2 separate regions of the Homo sapiens genome follow, and region 2 is linked to region 1. The links are contacts of gene promoters, found by promoter capture Hi-C in blood cells and fetal thymus (Javierre and others, 2016). All regions are on one chromosome and are shown on one strand. Each heading gives the region's core, a stretch centred on a gene start or on the middle of the fragment in contact. The rest is flanking DNA. Distances are from core to core; before and after follow the strand shown.

Region 1 (3,939 bases), core at 1,122-3,621:
CGTGCAGTGGCGTGATCTCGGATCACTGCAAGCTCCGCCTCCCGGGTTCACGCCATTCTCCTGCCTCAGCCTCCTGAGTAACTGGGACTACAGGCGCCCGCCACCACGCCTGGCTAACTTTTTGTATTTTTATAGAGACGGGGTTTCACTATGTTAGCCAGGATGGTCTTGATCTCTTGACCTTGTGATCACCCGCCTTGGCCTCCCAAACTGCTGGGATTACAGGGGTGAGCCACCACGCGCGGCTGCAATTTAACTGTTTTTAATAGCTTCTAATTTGTATAAATCACACGTAGCAGTTAATAGAACTGTTCCAAATTCCCATCGGAGTAGCTGGTAGAGGAATTATCTCTGAGAATGCTGCTTCATTCTTTAGGAGGCAACACGGACTCTTGGAAAGAGAGGCAGGCCTTGCGTTGAAACACTGCCTCAATCACTAGCTATGTGATCTTGGAAAAGTTACTTAAACTCTGAGAATTAATATTTACTCCACATACTTGAAGTGAGATTGTGAGATAAAGAACACGACAATTAGTTGCTTTTCTTCTTTTCCCTCTTCTCCACGAGTAACAATCCATTTTAATCTCCATTTTAGTCTAGATCATTTGCTCAGGTTAAGCTTACAGGTCCCATCACTGTATCACTAAACATTACAAAGTTCCACAGTAAGAGACAATCTCGCTAACACAGGCATCATTATATGAGACTGATGAGCTTCTAGAAAGTCTGATGACTACATCATAATGGGAAGGATAAGGCGTTCCTCAAAATGGATGCCATAAGTAAAGTAAGCGCAATTCAATTGAACCCGAATGTTTATTGAGCATTTCCTCAGCTCATTCAAGAAGTCATTGTTAACCATATATTAAGGCATCCAAGAAACAAAAAGCGCATTTGTTGTAGTAAAAAACAAATAAAATAAAGCTGAAAAGATTTCAAATAAAAGGTTTCCAGAAAATAGGCATTAAAAAAATTGTCCTAAAAAAAAAAGTGCTGCTGTTTTTTCCTAAATAATGATCTAATTAAATCACCAAACTTACTCAAAATGGCTGTGTACAAAAAATGAGAGTTGACATTAGATCTCGGACATATTTCCCACATACACAGTGATTTGAAGTAAACTGCAGTTTGTTTTGAATAAATCTAAGTTATATGTTGTATTACTATGTATTGCTAAATTCTCTGCACTACTGTCATGCAATACTAATTTTACAGGGGAAGCTGAAGCCTGATTAACTTCGTCAGTGCCACAGGAAGAAACAAGAGACAGAAGGAAAAAGCACTTTGGATGCCCGCTGTAATTCACAGAGATCTCCACGGTAGGAGCGGGACGTCAGCTTCTGCGGCTAAAATCTCGTGACTGAAGCAGCACAGATCAGAAAGAACGATTTACCAGGTATCTATTTCGTTCTAGAAAGGGGCCCATAAACCTAAAAAGCATCCAGGAGAAATCGCTTCCTCCCGCTTGGCGGCAAAGGACAGAGCAGGAGGGCGAGCACTGAGTGTTTAAGAAGGATGAGGCCTACATGGCAAAGGCTTCGATAAGTAGGGAATGCAAGGAAACAGAAAAGGGGGAATCAGGTTCGCAAAAGTTTACCTTTTAGCGCCAGCAGGTGCTCCTGTTTAGGGGGATTCACTTCCATTTTGACCGGCACTTTTGACCCACAGCCTACGGGGGCTGGACAGGTTCAACTTGCCCCGGAAGGAAACGGAAAACCTCGCGTTTGGCAAAACCAAAAGTCAAACGCACTCTCAACCTCTCTCTGGTGGTGGTACCTTAAATTCTCCTACTGTGTCCTTTACAAACTGGCTTCTTTTCAACAAGTCCATTTCTTCTATCTTAGAAACGTAGGCATAAAATACTTTGTTTTCCATCTGCAATCACACATCGCGACTGCAGGAAAAGAAACCACCCCTAGGTAACAATACGCGGCCTCCCAAAGGCCAACGTTGCCGGAGTTTTTTTTTTAAAAAAAAAAAAAAAAAAAAAAAAGAGAGAGAGAGAGAGTGGCATGCTGGGATTTGTAGTTTATACAAAAACCGCGTTGCATGCAGGGAGATGCCCGTACCCCCTCACCGCCCTCAGTTCACGCCCTGGCTGGTTTGGATTCGAGAGGAAAAATCATTAAAGGATCTGGAGTTTTCACCCCAAAACTTTAATCGTTTTGTCCCTTCTTTTTTTTTCTTGTCTTTCCTCCAGCAGCTGCAGACTACATAATGAAAAATAACAAAAGTGCCCATGCGCGAGGCTGTGCAACTAACCACCCGACGATTGCGGGGAGGAGGAGTAAGAGTCGGCTAAGCGGCGCCCAGTGTCCTACTGCGCCTGTGCGCCGGTGGCGTGCGCAGAGGCCTCTGGGTAGGTGGCTCAACCCCGCCTCTCAGTTGAGGACTCTGAAGGCTGTTTCTGTGGCGCTTCCCCTGCGAGGATGGCTACCCTGGTTGTAAACAAGCTCGGAGCGGGAGTAGACAGTGGCCGGCAGGGCAGCCGGGGGACAGCTGTAGTGAAGGTGAGGGACCTTGCGTGCTCTATTCTCCACCATCGGCCTCCCTTCGGTTCATCCTGGAGACCTGGCGGCATCGCCGCGGCCCAGGCTTCGATAGGTGGGATGCGCGGCCTCTGGGCCCCTTTTGGCATTACAAGTCTCGTCCTGTCCTCTGCATCCTTTCTCTCCTATGGCCTGAAATTGCCTGGTCTTCTGCTCATGACATGTCATCATCGGGACATTTGTGAAAAGGAGCTTGCGGGCCAGTGGCAGTGACCTAGACCGGTCTTTTCTCCAGGTCCTCTGCTTTTAGTTAAACTCAACAGACATTAATTAGCTTAGTATTATAAATTGAGTCATCATCATCGTAACTACGTACTAAGTTAGGTGTTTTAGCTCGTTAATATCTACTTATGAAGTAGATGTGAATTCCCATTTTACAGGGAGGAAACCCAGGTTTAGGTAAACAGTGTGTGGCAGAGCCCCGGGTTGACCGGCTTTAAAGTCTGTACTTTTCGCTCTTGTACTGCGTCTGTAATCAGACATCTGTTATTGGGTGAGCTGCCCCCTCCCCTGTTAGTAGTACAGTCTATTAACTCTTTGCACAAGTCTGCAGCATCGTCATAGCTGGGCATTAACGATAGAGTTTATGAATTTTCTTATGCTTGAAGTTTGAGATTCTACCATGTATACATGCTCCAGAATCAATTTGCTAAAAAATCATTTGAAATATGTGGCACTCATTTTTCCCTTCCACTGTTGTGCACGGAAAGATATGGAGGGGAGAACTGATCCCATTGGTTTATAGAGTAACCTTCAGGAGCATCTCTAATCTAAGAGATTGATAATTCTCATTCCTGGCTACATATTAGGATCACTGAGGAGTTTTAGTACACTACTGATGCACTCCTCCTCCAGTTCTGATGAGGTTGACATCAGTATATTTTAGGAATTACCAGAAGTTATTTTAATGTGCAACCAGGGTTATGAATTACTGATCAAGGTAATATATGAAGTTTTTTTCACATCTTGAAAAGTAGACACCTATGATTATTCAGGTAATGTTGGTTTTATATGACAGCAAATGAGACATTTCTTCCCACAATTTAGTATCAGTGAATATTGGTGGTTGTTGATTCAGATGACCTTTAGGTACTAATGAAGTTATTCTACAGGTACACGGCATATCTGATATGCAAAGGAGCCCTCATTATTAGGCATGTTGTGTGACTGAGATTTTATTTATTGAATTGTGCTTTTGCTAAGTAGAGAATACTTGAAGAGCAGTTTGTGAATTAACTTGAAGTTTAAGTTTTATTTCATAATTGGAATGGGTATCATTGCAGTATCTATTTTTTTGTTACCCTGTTTGCCTTACAGTCTCAAAAGTGTACCAAAGCCTGATGTAACTCCAGTTTCTTACAGCACAGAATTTGATACATTGGAGGCTCAC
Region 2 (4,138 bases), core at 735-3,234, 520 kb after region 1:
GAAGTAGCAAGAGAGAGGAAGAAACCAGGAAAGAATCCTATTATTGTGTGAATTATGGTTCATAATGGTTATGAAAGCTAGCACGGAGAATTAAAAAGTGATGGGAAGTGGAAGGGAGAGGACATGCCCTCTAGTTTCTAAGAAGCTCACAATCTGTAAGACCAGATAAGATCAGAATACATCAGCTAACAATGCAAGTAATGTATGACAGGTACCAACATGAGTTCTAGGAGGAGGAAGACAGCAGGAGCATTATGGATTGGGGTAGCCAGGGGAAGTAGGATATAAGTAGACCCTAAAAAGTGGGTAAGACTTGAATAGCTGGACACTGGGATTGGAGAGAGGAAATTCGGGTTAGAGGAATTTCAGGTTGGAGGAATTTCACGCGCAAAGGAGGAACTACACCAGGAGCACTCAGGAGATGTGCTTATGTTGGGGACTGATGACAGATTATTTTAGGAGGGTAAGCTTGGCCAGATGGAGAGGGCTTTGAATGCCAGGCAAAAACACCTGGTAATAAACTTTAGTTAGTAGGCAGCCTTCAAAGGTTTCAGATACTCCCTAAAAGAAACTGACTTGTGTTATTTTCTTACCCCTTCAAAGCATCCCTGTGAGACCAGTCCCTGTTATCTAAACGTATTTTTCTCCTATCATGTCGTGTCTTCCTTTGTTGACTTTATTTCTAAAAATATTAGGTGTGACTCTGACACTTTTGGTATCTGGGACTGCTCAGCAGCTTTCTCTAGCAGGTAGTTAAGTTTTCTTTTCTTCTACCCTATTACTTCCAGTTCCATCCCTCAGGGACCATGAGAAACAATTCCACTTCTCCTTATGTTTATATTCGGAGGATGCTTATAGAGTTTCCACATTCCCTGTGCTTTGAGCTCAGCCAAGGTATACATACTTAATTCTTTTAATCTCTCCCCCTAAGTCACTCCCTGTGGCCCCTTAAGCATCCTAATTGCTCTTCTCTGAAAGGCAGCCAGCTCATTATGTGCATCTTCCTTGGGAGGCAATGAGGAACATAGTATTCCCCGTGTGGTCTCACTAGACTCATATATTACCTCCCAGTTGCATCCCACGACTGGACATGTGGAGCCGCACTCCTTCTGCTCCCCGCTCCCTACAGTGCGCCCTGGCCTCAGTAAATCCCTTATCTCAACAGGTTATCTCCCATTTCCAGGTGGCCTGTTCCAAAGCTTGGAACCTGTGTTCACCACATGTTCAACCCCCAGCTCCCGCCTCAGGAGGTCTCTTACTGGGGAAGGTGGCCCGGAACCAGGACGAGTATCTGTGGAAAATTGCAGCTAAGCTTGCGTAAGTAAACCTTGGAAGAGGAGAGGCTGCGGAGTGCCCAGAATTAAGAGATGCCGCATCCTGCCATGAGCTCCCCGGCCTGCCCGGCTGTGACAGTATTCAACAAGGTGCAACTTGGAGGCTTCGCCTCTGTTTCCAATTATCCCTTTTATCTCTGCTCTAGCCCCTCTCCTTACCTAAGTGTTTTCATAGCTCTCAGTCATTACTGTTTAGCTTTGTGAGGATAAACGTGAAACCAAACAAATTATACATATCCTGTCTCAAGATGTGTTATCACCCTCTGACTAGAAACCCCCAGAAGCCTGCGGCTTTTGAAAGTTCTAGGTTTTTTTTTAAGCTTTGAAAAAAAAATGGTGGCAGAGGTTAAACTGCCTTTGAGAACGCCAAATGTTTGGATTTCAGTGAAGGTTGACATGGAAACCCACCTGAGGCTTCCTCGAGTGTCTCGGGAGGTAATAAAACCCGAGCTGGATGCTCCTGCTGCTGGGGGAGGAACAGCTCCCAGGGCGGCCAGGTGGGGGCGGCGGGGCCTGAGGAAGCTGCCCGGGGCCGCACAAAAGGGAAATCGAGGAGAGGAAGCCAAAAGCCAGAAAGGGCACGACGGGGGCGTGGGTGCGGGTGTCCGGGGAGACCTCGGCCGTCCCAGAACTTTCCAGGGCCCGGGGACCTGCGCCGCCCCGACTGGAAAGTTGGTGTTTTTACTCGAAGCCCTTTCTCTGGGCAGTTTAATAACAAACAGCGGCCGCAGCAATGGCGTCCGCGCCGGCAGCGTCGGGGCGCCCGGAGGCGGGGCGCGGCGGGGCGGGACTCTCCTCCCGCTCGGGCCCGGGGCGACCGGCGCACCCCACAGCCGCTCCCGGCGGCCGCCGAGGCGAGGGGCGGCAGAGAAAGGTCGGGAGCACTGAAGCACCGGGGTTGCCGGAGGCGAGGGCACCCAAGTTTATGCAGCTTGGGGTGGACGCTCGACTGCTGAGCTGCAAATACACAGAAAGCTTTGCCCACCGCTCGCCCCGTAGGTTCATCGCTTTATTCCCATCTACACCCAGGCACAGGAGAACTAAAGTGAAGAGAATTATCTTATGTTGGTTTCTTGGGGAGGAGGCGTGTGGAGGGGAGAGAGCCCTCCGGGAGAGACGAGGGAGAAAGGCAGAGGGAACCCATAGGGAGAGGAAGCAGGACGCCAGTGCTGCTTCCTAACACCTCTCTTTGTCTCCATTCAACACGGATTCCTCCCCATGGTGGGCCAGCCTTAGAGGACACATTCGTCTTTGCCCCCAAGGCCACCACAGACTCTGTGTTTCTACCCTGAGTACTAGAGGATGCCCTAGAAAAGAAATCTTGAGGACCTCTCTCTTTGAGACTTTGAGGGCCTCCACCTTCCAGCCACTGTTTCGTCCAAATCTGGGTTATCCATTCAGTAAAGGGTTGCCAGCTGAAATACAGCACACTGAGTTCCATATGAATATCAGATAGACAACGACAAATTTTGAGCATGAGTATGACCCACACAAAAATTCGTGTGCGTTTGTTTTATTAACTCTAGCAATCCTAATTCAGTACGTATTTCTGATTCTTCTTCAATTCCCGTCCAGACAGCAACCCTCTGAGACAGGAAGGGAGCGTGCTCTCACCAGGCACCATTTCCTGCCTCTCCCTCGGTCCCCTCTAAAATTGGTAAACCTCAGGTGTTTTCTAGGGAAGTCCCACCGTAAGTGGAGAAAGAATAAAGATGGGAGTAGAGATCAGGGGTGAAGTAGTTTAAGGTCACCTAACCAAAAATTGGAAATTTCAAACGCAAGAGCTGAGTTCTCCTTTATTGGAGGAATTAACAAGATGTGCTGTGAACATAAGAGTTAAATAGTAGTCGCCTTTTGTAAGCAACTCTAACAGAGGTTTACATTTGGGATTAATAGTAAACTCCCCAGGCCTTACTGACAGAAGAATGTAGTTGCCCAAATAAACAATGTTTTGATCGGGACTCGAGACCAACCCTCCGAGCACTCAGCCTCTTCCTAGCAGGAGCATTTCCCAACTCTGAAGTAATTTGTAATGTGCTGGGAAAACATTTTCAAAAAATGGATATCTAAGATACCATAAAAGGGAAAACAGTTCTCGCTTTTGAAGTAAGAAATACCATTTGCAGTAAAATTTCTTCCGTTTGCATTTCTGAATTATGTCTTGATAAAGCTAGGCTTACAGTGCCCGAGTGCTGCCTCCGACCTAGTAAGGAAGAGTCTAATGGAACAGTGTGGGTCTGGGGTTTACTGTCCTCTAAATATTATACTGTCTTCTTGGTACATAAAAATAAGAATACCTCCCAATGATGGGATTACTGTAACTGGCCTTTACTTCCCACTGTAGGCTTCCTGGAACTGGCCTTTCAGACTGGAAGACCCCTCAGCACAATTTTGTCACACCGTCTCTCAGCGGCCACTGTTCCTTCAAGGGTAGAAAAAGTTAACATTTCCCAATAGCACTTTGACTAGAAACATGAATGTGCTGAGAAGCACAGAAAACATATTGTTTTACTGGGAGGTCTCAAATGACTCCGGGAGGACTCCCTTGAAAAGGCCCTGGCTCCAGGTCAAACTCCAAAAGTGCTGCTCACTCTGCCCCCTGGTGCAAGTCGGTGTGCGGCTCACCCAGAAAGGAATTCTTCCCCTTTCCAGGTGGTGTTGTGGACAGCTTTGGAGGACCCTGCTTCCCAGGGGACCAGTGACTGTTTCTCTATGTGTCATGAGCTGAAGGCCTGAGGATCTGAAGATTTGGATTCTCCTCAAGTTCACTCCTTCAACAAGTATTTGTTGATTACCTCCTGTGT

The links. The method cuts DNA at HindIII sites, captures the fragments that hold promoters and counts their contacts. A CHiCAGO score of 5 or more calls a contact.
Region 2: a fragment that was not itself captured here is called in contact with the fragment with the promoter of TRIM23 in region 1 in 1 of 17 cell types (naive CD8 T cells); the score reaches 5.6 in naive CD8 T cells.

The regions. Positions count from the first base shown.
Region 1 is chr5:65,622,765-65,626,703 of GRCh38, reverse strand. It overlaps TRIM23 (tripartite motif containing 23), which reads left to right and starts at 2,371. Exons shown (of 11, transcript NM_001656.4): 1 at 2,371-2,510. The coding sequence starts at 2,430. TRAPPC13 (trafficking protein particle complex subunit 13) reads right to left here and starts at 1,677. Exons shown (of 13, transcript NM_024941.4): 1 at 1,598-1,677. The coding sequence starts at 1,643. SHLD3 (shieldin complex subunit 3) reads right to left here and starts at 1,677. Exons shown (of 2, transcript NM_001365341.2): 1 at 1,598-1,677. RefSeq lists enhancers at 2,162-2,241, 2,372-2,701. The HindIII fragment of the contact is 4,327 bases long and covers 622-3,939 here.
Region 2 is chr5:65,101,076-65,105,213 of GRCh38, reverse strand. No RefSeq gene overlaps it. Among named protein-coding and RNA genes, the nearest start is that of CWC27, 330 kb to the right of the region's middle. RefSeq lists enhancers at 1,724-2,224, 2,225-2,725 and a silencer at 1,953-2,242. The HindIII fragment of the contact is 655 bases long and covers 1,657-2,311 here.